Regions from separate parts of the Homo sapiens genome. Here region 1 is linked to region 2. Evidence: promoter capture Hi-C in 16 types of primary human blood cells and fetal thymus (Javierre and others, 2016). All regions are on one chromosome and are shown on one strand. Each heading gives the region's core, a stretch centred on a gene start or on the middle of the fragment in contact. The rest is flanking DNA. Distances are from core to core; before and after follow the strand shown. Region 1 overlaps ARCN1 (archain 1 coat protein complex I subunit delta). Region 2 holds the start of HINFP (histone H4 transcription factor).

Region 1 (5,849 bases), core at 1,069-3,568, 550 kb after region 2:
AAAAAAAAAAAAAAAAAAAAGAGAGACGGGGTTTTGCCATGTTGCCCAGGCTACAAATTCCTGGGCTAAAGTGATCCGCACACCTCAGCCTCCCAAAGTGCTGGGATTACAAGTGTGAGCCACAGCATCCGGCCAAGGCAATGGATTTTTGCCTTTGTCAATATTTTGATATTCAAATAATGAATATTGACTCTCCCCCCAAAATTTTACATACAGTTTCAGGGAATGCATCGATCCTCTAGAGAAGTTATTTCAAATGGCCCATAGAAAATCCCCTCATGCGATGAGAAATATTATTAATAAATGGGAGCATATTGTAAATGTAATCCCTGTAGAGCCTCCTATCCCTAAAAGGTTGAGAGTCATAGCTCTAGGAAGTCATGGTCCTCTATGTTAGAATTTTATGAGGTTTTGAAGAAATAAGACAAATCAAATGAACACCTAAAGAAAGGACAGCTCAGACCAAAACTTCAGACCTATATAAACATGCTGCATTTAATAGAAACCCCATATCTAATAATAAACCTGTTAGAAACAATGTTTACAGGCTCAAGGGTAGTTCTTAGGTTTCCAACTGGAGTTAAAAACACCTCTATACCATACAAGTAAAATTTAGGTAAAAACATCAAAAGCAACTTGAGAGGGAAAAAGGAACAAAAAGGTGTATGTTACTATCCACTTTATTTATTTATTTATTTATTTATTTATTTATTTATTTATTTATTTATTTTTTGAGAGAGTGTCTCACTCTGTAGTCCAGGCTGGAGTGCAGTGGTGCCATCTTGGCTCACTGCAAGCTCTGCCTCCTGAGTTCAAGCAATTCTCATGCCTCAGCCTCCTGAGTAACTGGGACTACAGGCACAGGCCAGCACCACCAAGCCTGGCTAATTTTTCTATTTTTAATAGAGACAGGGTTTTGCCATGTTGGGCAGGCTGGTCTCCAACTCCTGGCCTCAAGTCATCTGCGCGCCTTGGCCTCCAAAGTGTTGGGATTACAGGAGTGAGCCACTGCACCTGGCCCATCCACTTTACTGATGAGCATGTTCAAAAACTAATTATAGGTACTGGTAATCTCCATTTTTGCGATATTATAAGAATTAACTGAGTAATTATTTATCGAACATCTACTATACATACAACATGCTTTCTGAGAATTAAGATGACACAGGCTAGCATTCTGCCTACAAGAAGCTTAATAGGGATAAGACACAAACACAAATAACTGTAATATGAGGCAGAATGTGTTAAGTAACATGAGAGAGTAACCGATAAAGTGCGTGGAAATTCAGAGGAAGAGATTACTTCCAGCTGGTACAGTCAGGGATGACTTGATAGAAGAAACAGCATTTAGGCCGGGAGCGGTGGCTCATGCCTTAATCCAGCACTTTGGGAGCCAGGGCAGGCAGATCACCTGAGGTCAGGAGTTCGAGACCAGCCTGGTCAACATGGGAAAACCCTGTCTCTACCAAAAAATACAAAAAATTAGCCAAGTCTGGTGGTGCACGTCTGTAGTCCCAGCTACGGGGAGAGTGAGGTGGGAGGATTGCTTGAACCTGGGAGGCGGAAGTTGCAGTAAGCCAAGATCATACCACTTCACTCCAGCCTGGGCTACAAAGTGAGACTCTGCCTCAAAAAAAAAAAAGAAAGAAAGAAAGAAAGAAACAGAATTTAGATCATGCTTTGATGAATTCCAGGATTTGTTTGTTTTGAAACAGAGTCTTGCTCTATTGCCCAAGCTGTAGTGCAGTGGCGTGATCTTGGCTCAGTGCAGCCTCAACCTTCTGGGCTCAGGTGATTCTCCCACCTCAGCCTCCCAAGTATCTGGGACTACAGGCACAGGCCACCACACCTGGCTAATTTTTTGTATTTTTCTGTAGAGACAGGGTTTTGCCATGTTGCCCAGGCTGGTCTCAAACTCCCAACCTCAAGTGATCTGCCCGCCTGAGCCTCCCAAAGTGCTGGGATTACAGGCATGAGCCGCCACACCTGGCCAGAATTCCAGGCTTTCAGTACGTCAAGATGAAGAAAGAAGTAGGGTAAAATCATATGTCTCTCTTTGAGTCATTCCATTATCCAGATACAAGCAAAACAAGGCTTCCAAAATAGGACCATAGTTCCCCATACTAAGTATAGCATAAATCTCCGAACACCCAGGACACCACAAATTACAGGTTCCAGGCAGTTGACACAGGTCTCTCTGTTACAGCTACTAATATGGCTAGAAGGTATGGTCACCTCTAAACATGATAAATTTATCCTATCCTAAATTAACATTTGTCTTCTTAAAGTTCTTGAAATAATAAACCTCTTTACATTAATGTTTACTGGTTTAACAATTATTAAAATATAGCATATACTAAAAGGTAAGTTAACAATTTTCCCTATTGAAATTTGATCTGATTTTCTCTGAGGAAGAATTAATAAATATGATTACAAAGTTTTTGGTTTTTTTTTTTTTTTTTTTTTTTAACATTTTTGGAAAAAACATTCCAGATCTAAAAGGAACTTGCAAGAGCCCTTGATTGTCTTACAGATGTGAAAACTGAGGGCCCATAAGTTAGATGATCTCTCCAGGACGGTTAAAAAAAAAAAAAATTCCCTCATAAAGTTGAGCTTTGCCAAACAACTTTTAATAATTCTTACATGGTTTGAGTACACTATCTTTGGACTAAATAACAACTCTCTCCTACACAGACTTAACTACATGAATTGTTAAGTGCCTCAAGTAAAAAAACCTGGAGAATTAGGTTTCTGTTCTGCCTTTGCCACTAATTATGTGACCTTGGATAAGTCACTTAATTGATTATTGAAATATCCCTAACATAGGAGGTTAGTTTACATGAAATCCAAAGTGCTCTGTGTCTTTAAAGTTCTGTAAGTCTAAGCATTTGAAAACTACAGTAACAGAAAAAAAAAAAAACAACTACAGTGACAGAAAATGTACAATACTTCCATTTTATACCCACTGCTCCAGTTCTAACCACTTTGGAACAATATTTTATAGTAACATTAGGCTGCCAGAAGGCAAATTGTCTAACCATAACAAATTGTGTGTGCAAGAGAGATACAAGAATAACAGGTGGTATAATAATTCAGGATAAATATGCACAACTCTCTCTCAAAAAAAGTCAAGTTCTTTCTTGAATCTCTAAATGCTTCAGGATCCCTTACTTCCAGAATTATAGTCACCTTCTCCTTTGTAATTCACCGCAATATTTTATACACATATACATGCACACACAATTCATGGTCATATTAAGGCTAGTTTCTATAATTGTCAGGGAGGACTGTTCTGTCTTTTCTATTTATATGAAGCTATTATAGATAAAATCAGAGAGAAGATTACAATAAAATGTAGACCACATACGAAACCTAAAACTTGAAAAGTAATTTACTCAGTGAGGGTTTTAAGTCCATCACATTTCTATTCTAAAACAAAAGCTTGCAGAGAATTAAAACACACACACACACACACACACACACCCGTTATCAGTTTCTGCAGTGAACTTCTATATGAAGACATAAATAGATGGCAAATCAATGGAAACTCAAGAGAATCATTTTCTTTCTTTGCTGTCCCTCAAAACACAATTAAAAAGATACATAAATAATACAGGGGCCGGGCGCCATGGCTCACACCTATAATCCCAGCACTTTGGGAGGCCGAGGCGGGCAGATCACGAGGTGAGGAGATCGAGACTATCCTGGCTAACATGGTGAAACCCCGTATCTACTAAAAATACAAAAAAGTAGTTGGGCGTGGTGGCAGGCGCCTGCAGTCCCAGCTACTCAGGAGGCTGAGGCAGGAGGATAGCTTGAACCCGGGAGGCAGAAGTTGCAGTGAGCTGAGATTGTGCCACTGCACTCCAGCCTGGAGACAGAGCGAGAATCCGTCTCGAAAACCAAACAAACAAGAAAAAAAGTCAGAACATGTTCTCATTAATTTGCAGAATACAAAAAAAAGATCAAATCAAGGCCCGCATGCCTACAGTCCCAGCTACTTGGGATATGGAGGCGGGAGGATTGCTTGAGGCTAGGAGTTCTAGGCCGCAGTGCACTATGATAGCGCCTGTGAATAGCTACTGCCCTCCAGCCTGGGCAACATAGTGAGACCCTGTCTCTTTAAAAAAAAAAAATCAAAAGATGCCTTTCTTTGTACTTTATTTTATGATGAAGTCATGAGAAAGCATTTGTTTCTGCATTTGTTCACTTATTTATCTATTGGAACTTTGCAGTCTAGGACATTCTGCACTTCAATAACTAAAGCCAAAGGGAATTTATTTTTTAAAAAATCAATGTTTACGTACTGATATCTGCAACTTACTTTGAAATGTATATTTTTTTTTAATGGAGAGAGGGATGGATGGATGATTAGATGCATGATAAAATATAGTGAAATGTTAGTTATAGAATCTAGTTGGTGGTTATATGGGTATTCACTACAAAGTTCTTTCAACTTTTCCAGATGTTGGAAAATTTCATAATGAAATGTTGAGCTAAAATAAACGCTGGAAATTTTGATACAACTTTTAGATAAAAATTTCACCCTATCTGGACATTTCTACTGTCCAGGGATCTGTTTGTAAAGGAGCAGGACCCAAAAACATTACACAGAAATCATACCAATGTCTTAACACTCTACAGAGCAGAATGTACTGAGATAAATTGTTCTCCAGAGTACACAAATCTGTGGGTATCTGGATCATGTTAAGTCCCAAATAATTCAGAAATATGTGACACAACTCTATGTATACGTACACATGTCAAAATAGCATGCAAAAGTTATATTTTATATATATCACGTAGGGCTTTACCATCCCTCAGTTATCAATGAATTAAAAATACTAAGTTCCAAGAACCTTTTAACAAAGAATATTTTTAGAAAGATTACCTTTATCTGGTTTATATAATACAAGACCTTAACTTTACTATTAAAATAAAAATATGCTCTAAAATGCATTATTAATTCCAGGGTGTAAACGGGAACTGAGTTTCAAAATCACTAACCAAATACAGAACCTCCTGGAGAAACTGAAAATACAAGTTTCTGGAAATTTTGTGTCCAACACAAAAATTTTAGGAGGCAAACCTGTTTGATGCAATTTATATACCTGAGGCTGAGAAAAGCTGTTCAGTGGCCTAAAGTCCAAGCATGAATTCCCCCCATTATCCAAGTTCTTATCTAAAGGGTTGTCAATAGAACTTATTAGGATTGCCACCAAATTACATTCTGCCATCTCTCAGGTACACTGGACGATGTTTTAAATCAAGTTATCTATTGACAAAAGAATAAAAAAGAACAGAACAGAACATCCTTCAAAAGACTAAAGGACATAAGGTGCACTGAAAAATAAATTACTAGCTTTTTTGAAACCAAAGAATGTCTACTACTTCATGAATATCCACAAATCACAGCGATAAAGGAAGATTGAGTGATGTCAGCAGTTCTGATTTCCTCCATCCTCAACCACATTAACCTTTCTCATCCTTGTAACAGATGAGTATACAAAGATAACGCATGGGAAGGCAAGTAACTGGTCTCGGAGGCTAACCCATCCCTCTTACTCCACCTCCTGTGAGACATCTGACTACGACATGCCACATACACATTTTTCTTCACCTGGACAATAAGTTCCTTGAAGGCAAACCCTGTGTTCTCTGGAACCTGCTCACATTTTCCCAGTGGTCTACACAGTGTATGTACCCCGAGTCACACTAACAAATGGACACAAGTGAGTTCTGCGGAAGTAGTGGAAGGTTTCAGAGACACTTGGGTCCTATACATTAGTGTTAGAAGTTACTCCTTTCCGCTCTGTGTCTCCATTTCCCCCTTCTGAACAAAAAGAAAA
Region 2 (5,885 bases), core at 736-3,235:
TCAAAAAAAAAAAAAAGAAGAAAGAAATATTGAATATTGACTGCTTTTATAATGTTGTGGTAAGAAAAGTAGAAAAAAGCTTCAAAAGTCATAAAATCCCACACCTCCTCTGACTATTACAGTATGAAATGCAAGGCTCTTCTCAAAGTGGTCTCAATTTTACTTCTCCAGTTCTAGGTAGGGAAACGAACATCTATTGAGAAGCTACAGTGTGTCAGCCCTGTGGTGAGTCCTCTCTACACTTCATCTGATGTAAGAGCACCCTCATTCCAATCCAAAGATCATGCTCTTTCTCCCACATGATGCTGTTCTCTGGCTTCCTCACCCATACTTCATTCCCTCTTCCTCTGATTCAATCATCTTTGTCTCTGAATACTCTACATTCTCCTAAAACTCTCTGCCTACGCAAGTTCTTTTTTTTTTTTTTTTTTTTTTTGGAGATGGAGTCTTGCTCTGTCGCCCAGGCTGGAGTGCAGTGCTGTGATCTGGGCTCACTGCAACCTCCGCCTCCCAGGTTCAAGCGATTCTCGTGACTTAGCCTCCGAAGTATTATAGCTGGGACTATAAGCACGCACCACCACGCCCAGCTAATTTTTGTAGTATTAGTAGAGACGAGGTCTTGCCATGTTGGTCAGGCTGGTCCCAAACTCCTGACCTCAAGTGATCCGCCCGCCTCGGCCTCACAAAGTGCTGGGATTACAGGTGTGAGCCACCGCGACAGGCCTACCTATGCAACTTCTATTCGCCTTTCAAACCCCAAAGTCTTCTCTTTGATGACCCCCTTCCCAATTCATCCAGGTACAGCTGGCATATCCCATCTCTTGCCCACGGCATCCACACACATCTTTGCTATCAATGCAATGAAACTTGTTTCCCCTAGACTAGGAGTTTCTCAGGACAGTGGCCATCACTTATTCACTTCTCATTCTCAGATTCAGCACAGAGCTTTGCACACCCCAGGTACTCAATAAATATCAGGAGATAATCACATTCCGGGAAGCCTTCCTAAACTACCCCATCCCTGAATCTACTCTTGCTCCTTAGTTCTATGGCTGGCACAGCTGACACCATAAAACTTCAACCCTATTTTCATGTTGCCATGGTCGTTTTATGTGTTCTAGTCTCGTTTACCCAATTGGACTATAAGAAGCTTCTGAGCAGAAACCATATCACACCTGCCCGTGTCCCTACACTGTGCCGAGCACAAATATTCTAAACATACACCTGCTGTTAGACTGGTGGGTAAGTCCAAGGAGGCAAGCTAGCTGGCGATACAGAATGATCTGAAACCTAGGCAAAACTCCCTGACGCTCTCTGACTGTCCTCCTGTCTTCTTTAATTTCTCTTTCTGTGTCTCTTGTTTCTACTCTGAGGAGATAGGGGCATGATCTTCACTCTACCCTCTTAACACTTAAGAGGGCATATACTGTAACGCAAGACAATGAATGAACTGTGGTATTCAAGAAAAAAAGGGTCCTAAACGCCTAAGAACTCATAATTTGGCCAAAAAGATAAGACTGATACGTGAAGACAACGACCGAAACAAAGTACCCGATGAGGGAGACCAGGACAGAGAGACACCTCCGCGGTCAGGCGAAAAGGAAGTCTCCCCTAAGCAGTGGGGCCCGCACCACGCCTCGAAGGACAGGTAGAATTTGGACAGAAGGAAGGAGACCGTCCCGTTGGGCAAAACCTCTCCACTCGCAGTCCCGCAGGCTTCCCGGAATCCTTCACGCTAAGGCGTGGCGGCGACCGAGTCTCAGCCGCAGCGAAGCCCCTAGACTAGAAAGCAGGGAGGTTCCAGTCGGGGTGAGGGGACCGGACCAGGGCAGACCAGCGTGGCCAAGCGGCAAGAATACTCGCCGAGGTGGCTCGGGAAGAGCTTGGCCTCCTGCAGCCCCTGCAGAGCACATACCCCAGCTTACCGTCTGTCGGCTCCAGGTCTCTTCAGCTCTTCTCCCACCTCAGACCATCTCCGGAGAGGCGCTTGAGGGACGGTCAAGGAAAGCCAATCGTCGTTCTCGGATCCGACTGACAGCCAATGGTAGCTGTGTCTGGCGGAACCCGTGCGCACCAAAACACGGAAGGGGCGGGAACAGTGGGTGGGGCTAGGCGTCCCGGGCGGACAGAGGGGCGACAGGATACGTGCAAAAGGTAGCACGTGACCGCGCCTCGCTGCTCAGGGCAACGCAAAGGCGGGGAGCCTATGGGCCTGAGTTCCCCTAACTGCGCAGGCTCGGCCTCCGGGACCCAACGGGCATGCGCAGGGCTCGCGCCTGGTGCGCAGTGGGGTCTCCCTCACGTGGTTCTTCGCTTTAGTTGGCTGGTTGCGTGGGCCTCGCGGAGAAAAAGGCGTGGGATGCTGCCCAGCGCTGTCGGCCCCGCTCGGCTCAGATTGAAGGTTCTACCCTTTCCTTCAGCCTCTTAGTCTTATTATGTTTTAAATGTTGGTATTATATGTTTCTCTTTCCCCCCAAAACTCGGCTTCCCTTCATCCACTCGTTCAGGTCAGAAAGCTGGCAGTCATCACTGATTCCTCTCACTTCTCACATCCAATCCATTGCCAAGTTCTGTGGATTCTACCTCCTTTTAAAACAGGATATTTCAAATTTATCCCCTTTTGTTTATCTTCACCGCCTCCCCCACCTCCCCTGTCCAGTGATGACCTCCAGGCAGGATTTATACATTAGTCTAATGGGTCCCGCTGCGTGCACACTTGCTTCCTTCCAAAGCATTCTCCACTTTGCAAAAAGCAGACCTGATCAAGTTACCATCTGCTTCAGACAATTCAAAGGCATTCTATTGCTTTCAGGGCAAAGCTCCAAAACCATACTGAGGTTTTCTAGACCCTTCAGCATCTGGGCTCTCCCTGTCTACTTTTTTTTAGTCCTTCTCGACCATATTTCTTGCTCTCCAGTCGCAAATTTCTTTCACCTTTTCCACCACACCAAGCCACCTTTTACCTCTCAAGCCTTGAACTTGTTTTCTTTACCTGGAATAATCCCTTTCTCCTCCTCCCACATTTATTTGACTGACTCCTACTAATTTTTATGGTCTCAGTGTAGATGCTTCTTTTTCCAAAAAGTCTTCCTGATAGTCCTTTCTTGTATTTAACAATACAGCTCAGTCACATTGTATTTGTCTGTTTACTCTCAGTCTGCATTCTTCACTAGACTAGTTCTTCACCTTTATAACTCCATCAGTGGGCCGGGTGTCGTGGCTCACGCCTGTGATCCCAGCACTTTGGGAGGCCGAGGCGAGTGGATCACATGAGGTCAGGAGCTCAAGACCAGCCTGGCCAACATGGGGAAACCCCGTCTCTACTAAAAATACAAAAACTAGCTGGGCATCGTGGCGGGCGCCTATAATCTCAGCTACTCGGGAGGCTGAGGCAGGAGAATCGCTTGAACCCAGGAGGCACAGGTTGCAGTGAGCTGAGATGGCACCACTGCACACCAGCCTGGGCAACAGAGCAAGACTCTGTCTCAAAACAAAACAAAAAACAAAATAAAACAAAAAACCCATCACTCACTTAGCCCAGTGGCTGAAACTCAGTAAGGGTTCAAGACATACTTGTTAAATAATATACCTTAATAAAGTTGGTTAAGACTGATATTTTATTGCATTGTAGTTTTCTGTATCTTCTAATCTAAAAATAAACCTATATAATTTGTACAATCAGAAAACACATTAAATGTTCAATATATATAAAATAAAATTTAAAATGCCATTAAGATAGTAAAGTCATACTTGTGCATAAATTTTGGTTTTAACAACAGTGAGTTATAACTTGGTCCCTATTTTAAAATAGGGTTTTGCAGGGCGCGGTGGCTCATGCCTGTAATCCCAGCACTTTGGGAGGCCGAGGCGGGCGGATCATGAGGTCAGGAATTCGAAACCAGCCTGGCCAACATGGCGAAACCCCATCTCTACAAAAAATACAAAAATTAGCCAGGTGTGGTGGTGGGTGCCTGTAGTGCCAGCTACTCAGGAGGCTGAGGCAGGAAAATCGCTTGAACCTGAGAGGCAGAGGTTGCAGTGAGCCAAGATCACTCCACTGCACTCCAGCCCGGGCAACAGAGAGAGACTCTGTCTCAAAAAAAAAAAAAAAGCGTTTTAAAAAATGTAATTCAAAAGTAACAAAATATATCTTACCAACTTTATTCATTCAAAAATGCATATAGTAGTACTTCATGAAATGCCATCCTCATTTTAATTCAGATTTACACCACTGAAAATAGCTTTTAGCTTTATTTAGCAATTTTATGAAGAAAAAGTTCATTCACAGAGCTGTGTAAACTCAAACATAGGTTACAGAGCAAAAATTTCAGGATTGCTCTGGGATCCATATATATGTTTCCAAAATTTAAAGCAGTGTCATTCTGTCTAGCATAGTTTACTTCTATCTCAATCTGCTTCTCTTGAAAACAAGCCACAATTTTGGCTGGGTAATTCAGACATATCCTGAGATTTGTTCTTTAAAAGCTGCCACAAAAACTGAAAGCATAATTCATACTCATTAAAAGCTGTGGATCCCTTCTGAAAGTGTGAAATGGATTAAGTTGATGAAAATATGTTTCGTATTTTTTTCATTCATTTAAAAATTCCCTATTTTTGAAACGTGATCAGGCTCTTCTTCACTAAAATATGTGATTCCATGGAACTCTGGGCAGCTCAGTACTGGAAGCTCAATACAGATTCCAGTTACCATCTACTCATTCCCCAGGTCCTGTAGAACTCTGAATACCTGTTCTCCCATCAACAAAAGTTTCTTGTGCAATCACAAGTTCACTGTGTTTGGTTGTCGTGTCATACTGGTAGAAAAACTGTTCCTCTGTGAACCACTAAGAGTTACATTTCTTAGACTGGGGAAACAGCTTGAAAAATCTCTTTGAATTTTCATGACTTAGAATTGAACATTTCACTACATAAAAATCAACCAAATCGATGTGTCCATCAATGGAGGATTGGATAAAGAAAACGTAGTTAATGTAGTGAGTGATAAAGAAAATGCAGTTTATAAACTCCAACTTGACTTTAATAAATTAAATTCCAAGCTGTCACACAGCAATGGACATCATTATCATCGCCCAACACACACACACACAGTGGAATACTACTCAGCCATAAAAAAGAATGAAATCATGTGTTTTCCAGCAACATGGGTGGAACTGGAGGCCATTATCCTCGGTGAAATAACTCAGAAACAAAGTCAAATATGGCATATTCTCATTTATAAGTGGGAGCTAAATAATGGGTATACATGGACATATAGAGTGGAATAAAAGACATCGGAGACTATGAAAGGTGAGAAGGTGGGAGGAGGGTGAGGGTTGAAAAACTACCTATTGGGTATGATGTTCACTATTTGGGCGATGCGCACACTAAAAAAAGCCCAGACTTCACCTCTATGCATGCAATATATGCATGTAAGAAACCTGCACTTGTCCCCCCAAATATATAAAACTAAATTATCTAATTGAAAAAAAAAATCTATACCCTCCATTCTTCCCGGATATCTCATATTTGGTGAGTAGTGTGGACAGGAGCATGGGGAATAGTAACAATTTCCACATGCTATCTACCCAAAGGCATGTGCCCTAAACACCCTGAGATATAGGTAGTCATAGAATGTCAAGGCTGGAAGTGACCTGAATGTTTATCCAGGTCACCCTTATTTTAGATATGAGGAAACTGAGGTCCCCAAAGGAGAAGTTGCCTGCTCAAGATCACTTGGTTTGTCTGTGGCAGACTCAGTTTTCTTGCTTCCTGGTCCTGCATTCTGCCCAATATCCTGTAGCAGCTTACCTGGTTCAAGTCCTGTATAAGATCTCAAGCACGGGAACCAGGGACACAGTTTGCTAGGATCTATCAATCCCTGAAAT

Evidence for each region. Contacts are between HindIII fragments. The CHiCAGO score rates a contact against its expected background, and 5 or more counts as called.
Region 1: a contact is called between a fragment that was not itself captured here and the fragment with the promoter of HINFP in region 2, in 2 of 17 cell types (activated CD4 T cells and non-activated CD4 T cells). The highest score is 5.6, in activated CD4 T cells.

Annotation. Positions count from the first base shown.
Region 1 is chr11:118,573,046-118,578,894 of GRCh38, reverse strand. The region is part of intron 1 of ARCN1 (archain 1 coat protein complex I subunit delta); the gene reads right to left. It also overlaps a transcript of IFT46 not described here. Among named protein-coding and RNA genes, the nearest start is that of ARCN1, 3.6 kb to the right of the region's middle. The HindIII fragment of the contact is 2,250 bases long and covers 1,194-3,443 here.
Region 2 is chr11:119,117,680-119,123,564 of GRCh38, reverse strand. HINFP (histone H4 transcription factor) reads right to left here and starts at 1,985. Exons shown (of 10, transcript NM_198971.3): 1 at 1,926-1,985. C2CD2L (C2CD2 like) reads right to left here. Exons shown (of 14, transcript NM_001290474.2): 14 at 5,021-5,885. RefSeq lists a silencer at 1,972-2,251. The HindIII fragment of the contact is 5,005 bases long and covers 1,153-5,885 here.